Regions from separate parts of the Homo sapiens genome. Here region 2 is linked to region 1. The links are contacts of gene promoters, found by promoter capture Hi-C in human tissues and cell types (Jung and others, 2019). All regions are on one chromosome and are shown on one strand. The core of a region is centred on a gene start or on the middle of the fragment in contact, and the rest is flanking DNA. Distances in the headings are between cores, read along the strand shown. Region 1 holds the start of CD302 (CD302 molecule). Region 2 overlaps BAZ2B (bromodomain adjacent to zinc finger domain 2B).

What was found. Contacts are between HindIII fragments. The study calls those that stand out against the background at their distance.
Region 2: a contact is called between a fragment that was not itself captured here and the fragment with the promoter of CD302 in region 1, in 1 of the 25 tissues and cell types used here (hippocampus).

Annotation. Positions count from the first base shown.
Region 1 is chr2:159,795,416-159,800,195 of GRCh38, forward strand. CD302 (CD302 molecule) reads right to left here and starts at 2,793. Exons shown (of 6, transcript NM_014880.5): 1 at 2,717-2,793. The coding sequence starts at 2,783. The region is part of intron 33 of LY75-CD302 (LY75-CD302 readthrough); the gene reads right to left. LOC124906083 (a long non-coding RNA gene) reads left to right here. Exons shown (of 2, transcript XR_007087273.1): 1 at 1-2,537; 2 at 3,404-4,780. The HindIII fragment of the contact is 5,989 bases long and covers 1,667-4,780 here.
Region 2 is chr2:159,518,748-159,523,527 of GRCh38, forward strand. The region is part of intron 2 of BAZ2B (bromodomain adjacent to zinc finger domain 2B); the gene reads right to left. Among named protein-coding and RNA genes, the nearest start is that of BAZ2B-AS1, 94 kb to the right of the region's middle. The HindIII fragment of the contact is 3,851 bases long and covers 684-4,534 here.

The DNA.
Region 1 (4,780 bases), core at 1,543-4,042:
TGCAGAGACACAAATCAAAACAAAACAAAAATCCACAAGATGGTAAAATCTCTGTTATGGAGCTTCTTTCCCCTGGTAAGAGAAGCAACAAGCAAGACAGATGAATAAACACAATGCATTCAGAAAGGCTTGGAAAAGATAAAACATGGACATGTGACAGAGAATGTGGGTGTTCAGGGAGGCTTCGGAGAAGGTGACATATGAACAGAGATCTGAATGGTGGAGGTGGGGGCAGCCATGCCAAGGACTGGGGGAAGGTGGTGTGCACAGAAGGACCAGAGGTGTTGGAGTACCCAGATACTGTTTACTCTGTGGATACACAGAGTGAATGGCAGGAAGGGTGGTAAGAGATGACATCAGGGAAGAAGGCAGAGGCACCTCATCTAAGGCTTGTAGGACATGGCAATTCAAAATCCCTAGATTCTGATCCACATGATGATCACAGAATGAGGACTTACTCGGAACATGCTTGTTCACTCAGCTCATGCCAGGCATAGGAAACCACTGACCAAATAAATACATACTGATCATCTATTATGTGCTTAAGCACCCTTACGGAAAAACTTTTTAAAGCGATGCCATGGATTTTCACTCAGGAATTTAAAGAATGTTTTGTCCACTGTGATTTTCAAAATAATAGCTAAGAACAAGGTTAAGATCACTTCACTAATAACCTCCAGAATGACAGACAATAACAATGATTTCCGTTTCAACATCACATTTATATGCAATACCCATATTTATTATGCAACATCATAAGAGCTTTTCTATTAAGATCTTGGTATTCAGCAACAAACTCTTTCTTGACTTAGTTCTAAGCCAAATATGACCCCTGATCTTGCTTGGATGGGAGATTTGTAAAGTATTATGAAAAACACACTTAGTTTTTCAGCCCTATAACATTAGCATACATATGAATGTGTTCAGTAACCATAAACATCCAATATACATAAGGTGGTATTCATACGTTTTCTGGTTGCAACAATTACCCTTCATTTTGTATGAAGAGAATAAAGGGAAGGAAACCAAGATGAACCACGCCTGTAATAGGGACTAGACGTGGAGTTCCCACTTAATGCTCCCAATAGCCCCATGAGTAAGTATTATCTCTGTTTTACTGAAGTGCAGATAAGTTGGTTAACTAGCTAGGTCAAAGCTCACACTCATTTCCAAATTAATCCTTAAAGCTTCCTGACTGGGAGGAGCTGATTAATTAACATTAATTTATTCATCATGCACTTTTCTAAAGCTCTTGAAAAGCCTATTGATCCACACTGGACTTATCAAAGGAAATGCACAAAAATTTCCAAAGGGAAATTTGCCCTCTATTGCTGGTCAAAACAGCTTCACTGAAGAAGAGACATACCAAAATCTAGAAACTGATTTTCTTTAAAAGTCTGACAAGAAAGAAAAATCTGACAAGAAAATTCGACTAGCCTAAAGTACAAATGCACAGCCTCGCAGAGGGTGGTTTACATGAGAGTTGAGATGTTACTGGCTCGCAAAATGAGGGTGTGCAGAAGGAGGGTTCAGAGACAGCCCAGCTTTGTCTTAGACAAAATTAATGTTCCCAGTCTGAACAATGTGAACATGGGCACATCTTGTTTCTGCCCCTTTGATAGGCAGCAGATGTCACAACCAGTCATAAATGCAGGTCCACAGAAGTTTTCAAGAAAGGAACCTTGGGTTTGTATCCAAGTTCTGAGCTGCTGCTGCCTCCAACACTGAGGTCCACTGAAATATTCCTGTCAGTAGACTTCGAGCAGGCAGTTATTATAAAAACGCAGTGAAATCTGGGGCAAGGGGTGGGGGGGGGGAATCTCTTGCATTTTATTTAAATCTCTTGCACTTTATTTAAGCCCACACAAGTACTCATTTAGTTCTTGTTTATTTTGCTCTTTAATTCCTGGAATTATTCAGTCAGTGGTGTTTTTGGAAGTCTGTGTTCTCCAGAGTCTCCCCATCCACATATTTTTGACATGCTTGTATGGAAATTTTTTAAAAATAAAGACCACGGTCAATAGAATTGTGCATTTTCCTCACGAGTCGTTTTGTAAATGAATGATCACGTGTGTGATTTTTCAGATGTCACTTGCACAACAGCAGACTAGAACTTTAAAACTCCTTGATTTCAGTGAAATCCAAGCTTTGCCTATTCCCGTTCCTCTTCCATCCAGGGGTTATTTGGCTGAACTGTTTTCCTGTTTAAACAACTTGAACACCAACCAACTAGACAAACAGCGCTGCTTGCAAAAGAGGGCCTACTTCCTCCGGCCCCCACCCCCATCCCAGCAACCCCACTCCGGCCGCGCACCAGCAGGGGAAATCGCCACCAACGTCCCCGCTTCTCATTTCAGCCCGAAATTGCCCTGAAACGGCGCCCGTCGTGCGACTCCAAGTCCCTCAGTTCTCCGGCCAACTGGCCTAATTTGGGGGTTCCCTCCCCGCGGAGTGGGGTCTGCGGTGAGGATGTGGACTCCGAGGAAGACAGAGCCCTCCCTTATTCTCGGCCACCTCCCCTCCCCGAGGGCAGGCGGGTGAGAGGTGACCCGGAGCCAGGACCCACGGGGGACGGGCGTGCAGGGAAGGGCGGGATGGCCGGCCGGGTGTTGCGTCTGCGGGCCGCCCTCGGGTGCGCGGGGACGAAGAGCGTGCGTTGGGAAGGGGGCGAAGGCGGTCGCGCACGGTCCCGGCGAGGGACTACGTAAGGGCTTACCCGCGACGGCAGCAGCGGCGAGGCCCAGCAACGGCAGCAGGAGCGCGGGCAGCGCGGCCCGGAGCATGACGGCGGGTGCGGGTGGGCGGCAGCGGCTGCGCGGCCGGAGAGGAGCGGGGCGGGGCGGGAGCGGGGGCGGTGCTTCTCGCGTGCGAGTTTAATCCCCCCCCCGGGCGGAACGTGAACGGCACTGGGGGCTCCCACCAGGAGAACCCGGGTGTCCCGTCCCGCAGGAGCGGCTGGCGCGCGGCCTTCTGGAACTTCTAATTTTTGTTTTTTAAACTTTTCATTTGAATTGAAATAATTTAGGACTTTCGAAAATGTTGCAAAAACAGCACAAGAGATTTCCGTAACCCTTCAGCCAGCTTCTCTAAATATTGACATTGTATATAACGCCAGTGCAGTGATCAAACACAGGGCACTCGCACTGGGATAATGCGATTAGCTAATCTACAGCACTTACCACATTTCATTAATTGCCCCTCTAAGGGTCCTTTTCTGTTCCAAGATTCAATCCAGGATCATACATTGCATGTCGTGTCTCCTTAGTCTCCCTTTAATCTAGGACGGTTCTCTGTCATTCTTTTTCTTTCACGATCAAACCACATTTAAAAAGTACTGGCCAGTCGTTTTGTAGAATGTCCCTCAGTTTCATTTTGTCTGACATTTCCTTCTAATTGGATTCAGGTTGCGCTTTTTTGGGAAAGAGTTCCCCAGAAGTGATGTACGTGCTCGAGAAGGACAAGATGTCGATGTCTCATCACTGATGTTAACTTGGATCAGTTGGTTAAGGTGGCGTTTGCCAGCCTTCTTCTTTGGATCTACTGGCCAGAATCCTCCTTTTCAAAGACCCCTTTCAGTGGACTATGTCTCTTAGACAACTTTTCTCTGTTACCAGCTCCTGGATGAAGAGTCTTTAAGCTATGTTTGCTACAATGTATGCATAAACTGTGCAATTATACTTCACCCATGAGGGCCTCTGGACAACACTAGCCAGGGTCAAGCAAGGGTGCTTGTTTAAGCCTCATGTCATTGGCAAAAGAGTTCTATAAAATCAAGTCTAAACTCAACAACGTGAAAACAAATGACCCAGTTAAAAAAAATGGTCAGATGATCTGAATACACACGTCATCAAAGAAGTTATATAATGGCAAATAGATGAAAAGATGCTCAACATCATATGTCATTGCTGAATTGTATATGAAAACAAAAATGAAATACCACTACATACCTATTAGATACCAGAATCCAAAAACACTGACAAGACCACATGCTGGCAAAGATGTGGAGCAAAAAGAACTCTCATTCAATGCTGGTGCAAATGCAAAATGGTACAGCCACTTTGGAAGACAATTTGGAAGCTTCTTCCAAAACTAAACGTACTCTTACCATACCATCTAGCAATCACAACTCCTTGGTATTTATCCAAATGAGTTAAAAACTTACATACACACAAAAACCTGCACATGAATGTTGATAGCAGCTTTATTCATAATTGCCAGAACCTAGAGGCAAACAAGATGTCCTTCAATAAGTGAATGGATAAACAATGGCACATCCAAACAATGAAATGTTACTCAGTACCAAAATTAAATGAGCTATCAAGCCACAAAAAGACATGGAAGAACTTTAAATATGTATTGCTAAGAGAAAGAAGCCAATCTGAAAAGACTGCATACTATATGATTCCAACTATATGACATTTTAGACAAGGCAAAACTATGGAGACAGTAAAAAGATAAATGGTTGCCAGGGGTTGGGGTGGGAAGAAGGAGGGGATGAATAGATGGAACACAGAGGATTTTTAGAGCCATGAAATTATTCTGTAGGATACTGTAATGGTAGATGTGTATCACTATACATGTGTCAAAACCCATAGAATGCACAAAACGAAGATGAACCCTAGTGTGGACAATGGACTTTAGTTAATAATGTGTCAATATTGGCTCATCCACTGTAACAAATGTACCTGCTAATGCAAGATGTTAATAATTGGGGAAACTGGGGTATGTGTAAGGAGGTACATGGGAGCTCTGTACCTTCTGCTACATTTTTTGTATACAT
Region 2 (4,780 bases), core at 1,359-3,858, 280 kb before region 1:
AACACAAGGTAAAGCTGGAACAAAGAAACACCTATCGTAAGGTCTTGCACAAGTCTATGATGTGGGTGGTTCAGCTCCTTAGCAATCAAAGTGGGAAACAAGATCAAATTACAAAATTCTCATTCTCTGTAAGATGTAATTTACAAACAAGCTCCAAAGCATTCTCTAGGACTTAGAATTGAGAGAAGTTTTAAAAATAATTTTCAAAAATGCAACACTGGAGCATACAACAGTTTTCTCAATAGAATCTTTACAGCAATTAAAATAACAAATTTCACATAAAAGTTTCTTTTAACATTTCCTCAGTGCAAGCCAGAGTGATAACATAAGGAAAGATTCCCCAAAATAAGCCATCTTGCTAGGAAGTGTGCAATTCTTATCTGGATCTTTAAACATACACTAACAATTTCCAGAATCTTATGTTAAATTCCATTTTCAAATTCCAACTTCATATTCTATTTTCTTTTTTTTTTTTTTTTTTTTTTTTTTTTTTGAGACGGAGTCTCGCTCTGTCGCCCAGGCCGGACTGCGGACTGCAGTGGCGCAATCTCGGCTCACTGCAAGCTCCGCTTCCCGGGTTCACGCCATTCTCCTGCCTCAGCCTCCCGAGTAGCTGGGACTACAGGCGCCCGCCACCGCGCCCGGCTAATTTTTTGTATTTTTTAGTAGAGACGGGGTTTCACCTTGTTAGCCAGGATGGTCTCGATCTCCTGACCTCATGATCCACCCGCCTCGGCCTCCCAAAGTGCTGGGATTACAGGCGTGAGCCACCGCGCCCGGCCTCATATTCTATTTTCTAAAGTCAGGTTCTTATGCTAGATGAGAGCATAAGATCACATAAAATGAGATAACCAGGGTTCCAGATCAGGCAAAAGATAAAACATTGGTAGGTAGGTCCAGACAATTATAAGGGACCTTTCTTCTTTTTTTTTTTTTTTTTTTTGAGACAGAGTCTTGCTCTGTCGCCCAGGCTGCAGTGCGGCGGTGCGATCTCGGCTCACTGCAAGCTCCGCCTCCCGGGTTCACGCCATTCTCCTGCCTCAGCCTCCCCAGTAGCTGAGACTGGCCAAGGGACCTTTCTTTTTAACTGAAATGAGTTCCTCTTTTCGTTGGTGATCTTCCTTCTATGATCCTGCCCATTACAACAGCTGGGAGTCCAATCTATGATGATGTTTAATCCTCCCCAGTTTGGTATTTCTAACCGTAGTAGATAAATGTGACTCTGTCTTCACATTCAGTTTGCATCAATTTAGATTCATATTTGCATACTTTTAGAACATTTACTTTTTGTTACTGGTGCAGAGGAAAGACAGCAAAACTGATACAAAGGAAATGTCCTATCTCTTATTTTATTATACAAGAAAAAACAAGATCTACCAGTGATGTCAAACGACATGCTACCATGGTATAATATCCAGCCTGAACACTAATAAAATGTAACAATGATGCATTCTGGTTTTCATGTCAGGTAAATAGGTTGTAGCAAATCATATCTTCCTTACTACTGGGTTGGTCTGCTCTCTGCCTCCCAAAGATCCTAAATTTATGTCCTCCTGCCTCCCAGATTATGCTTATGTTGTTTCATATCTCTTCTCCTACCTCATTATCAGTTTAGGTCTCATCACTTTCAGGATGGCTCTCTCTCAGACTCTACTTGAAGGGCCCATAAAAGCTTTCTCTACATAATTTAGCTATATATTACTATATAATTATTTGGGGATTCTCCTTATTAGATCTTGAAATTCCTTCTTTTATATTACCCACCATGAATAACAAAATGCTCAACATGTAGCAAATACTCTAAATACAAATAAACTTACTATAATGCATTAATAAACTGCTGTATATATTTATAACAGCTCATGTTTGTTCAACATAACTAGGATATTTATTATGATTGCATCAATTGAACCAGAAGGCAAATTTTTACCATACAGGTGATTTCTGCATGGTATACAATCAACCCATATTTAATCAAACCTTGGGCTTTTCTGTTTTCAAGCTTGTCAAAATAATTTCAATTGTGAGACAACTTTTGAGAACACTACCAAAAACCAAATCTATTTTGTAAGCTAGTGTCAAACCTCAAAATGACGAAGATTAAATGACAATTTTCATCCAATACAGTTTGATTCGTATTTGAACTCATAACATAAAATTTATGAAGCTTATTACTTTATTACCATTCAAAGAATTCTTCCAATGTGTAGCCATTAAAATTTATTTCTGAACTTCCTATTTTATAAAAATTCAAACCTTAGTAATCTCAATATATAATTCTGCTATTGTAAAAGGTAGTAGTCTTTAGATTTGGCATAATATATACACTCCCTTACCATAATTTCCTGCAATAAGGAAAACCACTCCTAATATTTAAAAATATGTTAGAAAACATACACTGAAGTATCTCATATTATCAACTTAAATCAATCAAGATTCATTCTGTTCATTAAAAAAGTTATAGGATAATTATCATGGTTACATTATTAACCATCTTATAATTGTTTACTTCAAAGAACAAAAGTAGGAAACATTTCCATAATATAAATTGAAATGGCTTTTGAACAAATTTAACAACAAAAGAATATTATTCAATTTTCTTTCTTTTCCTTAAAAACAAAATGGAAAGAGTAAGCCAAAGACAGATACAGATGTGTATATTTTCATTTATTGCAACATAATAGATACACACAGAGGCTGTGAGAATACAATATTCATTTTTCTGCAGAAGAACAGACATTGCATAACAATGAGATTTGCTAATGAAATCAACCATCAACCTGAAATACATATGTATTAAACCAAGACCTCAGTGTCATTTTCTTTTTGAATCGTTTGTTCTTACTTTCATTTTTTTCTCGACCTTTTCAGTATTTTTGTCCTTTAGATTTTAGAACTTATGGGTGAAGCAAAATCAACTCTATATTACAATGTATTGCTTTTTATTCATCACATTTATTTTCAATGTAAATTCCAATTGTTCTGCTTCTATCAGCACTATTAGTGTACCTTCAGAAAAAAGAAATCAATGGATGCTACCAGAAGAAACAAAGGAGGTTTATTTCTATAGAGAATTGTTGGATCTCAGGTCCAAAAAATTTTTTATCAATATTTCACATAAATTCTATGTGAAAACTTTAATTGCAAGGCGAGTGCTTACTTATTTAATAAGAAATAAGAAAATAATAAATACATTTTAAAGTCACTTTTGTAATAATATAATTTCCTCGACAATTTTGACTACTGATAATTATTAAATGAAATAATGTAGGGCTAATATAATCATTAAAATGAAAATTATTCTCAAGTTTTTAAAATAATACTTTTCCCTCAAAATGTTTTACTATCCTGGTCTGCAAATGTTGATTACCAATTAATATTTTCAAAAATAAGTAATACTGGGAATTTTCTTAAAGATTTATGATTTAGTTACAATCTTCAATAAAAGCACAAGACTATGAAAATATTTAATGTGATGTATCTTAAAGAAAAAATAAGTATTAATGTACCCCCAGAATCAATTTATATCCTTTTGAGTATAGGATATTTAACTAAAGAGCTATCTGTGCTATTGGTTATCCATTTACACAAATTAGGTTTTCAATTCACCTGTGCTACAGATAAAATTAACAGGCTAATCTCTGGCATACAATTGCTACTAATTCATAATAATAACAGCTTTAACAACAACAACAACAAAAAGCAGTACTTATACCAACTAAAACATCCAGAGTCAAACAGAAGATTAAGTTTCCTGTTATATTTTATACTACGTTAATGTCTAACCTCAAACAATACCCTGCAAAAATAACCAAAGGCAGTATCAACTACAATTCTGTTAGAAATAAGTAAACAATTAGACGTTCCTTATTAAATGTAAACTCTGAAAGTTGTCACTGACGTCTAATAATTGTCAAGGCTATTTTTAAAACTTTGAAGAATGACTTGAAGCTACAAACCACACAACCACAGAACGATCAATCAATCTAAACACAAGAGATTTTCCTTTAAAAATCCAAAAATTTCTATTAAAATGTCAAAATATACATTAGACTGTAGAGAAACAGACGCTTTAAACGAGTATCTGTGCAATACCAAAAGCCTACTTTTACTAGTACAAAAAAAAAATCCTAAAACATGGTGATAGGGTTTGGAAAGTCATCTAGCTCATTGCTACTCCAAGTATAGTCCACAGACCAGCAACATGGAAATTATTTGTTAAAAATGCAGAATCTTGGCCAGGTATGGTGGCTCACACCTGTGATCCCAACATTTTTGGGAAGCCAAGGCAGGAGGATCACTTGAGGCCAGGAGTTCAACACTAGCCCAGGCAACACAACGAGACCCCATCTCTACAAAAAAATAAAATAATTAGCCAGATGTGGTGGCATGTGCCTGTAGTCCCAGCTACTCAGGAGGCTGAGATGGGAGAATCACTTGAGGCCAGGAGTTCTAGGCCAGCCTGGGTAATAGTGAGACCTGGTCTCTACAAAAAATATTAAAAATTAGCCAGGTGTGTTGGCACGTACCTGTAGTCTTAGCAACTCAGGACATTCAGGTGGGAAGATCACTTCAGCCCAGGAGTTCGAAGTTACAGTGAGCTATGACTGTGCCACTGCACTCTAGCCTGGGTGACAGAGCAAGACCCTGTCTCTAAAAAAAAACAAAAGAAACAAGGCTGGGCGCAGTGGCTCACGCTTGTAATCCCAGCACTTTGGGAGGTCGAGGCGGGCGGATCACAAGATCAGGAGTTCGAGACCAGCCTGGCCAACATAGTGAA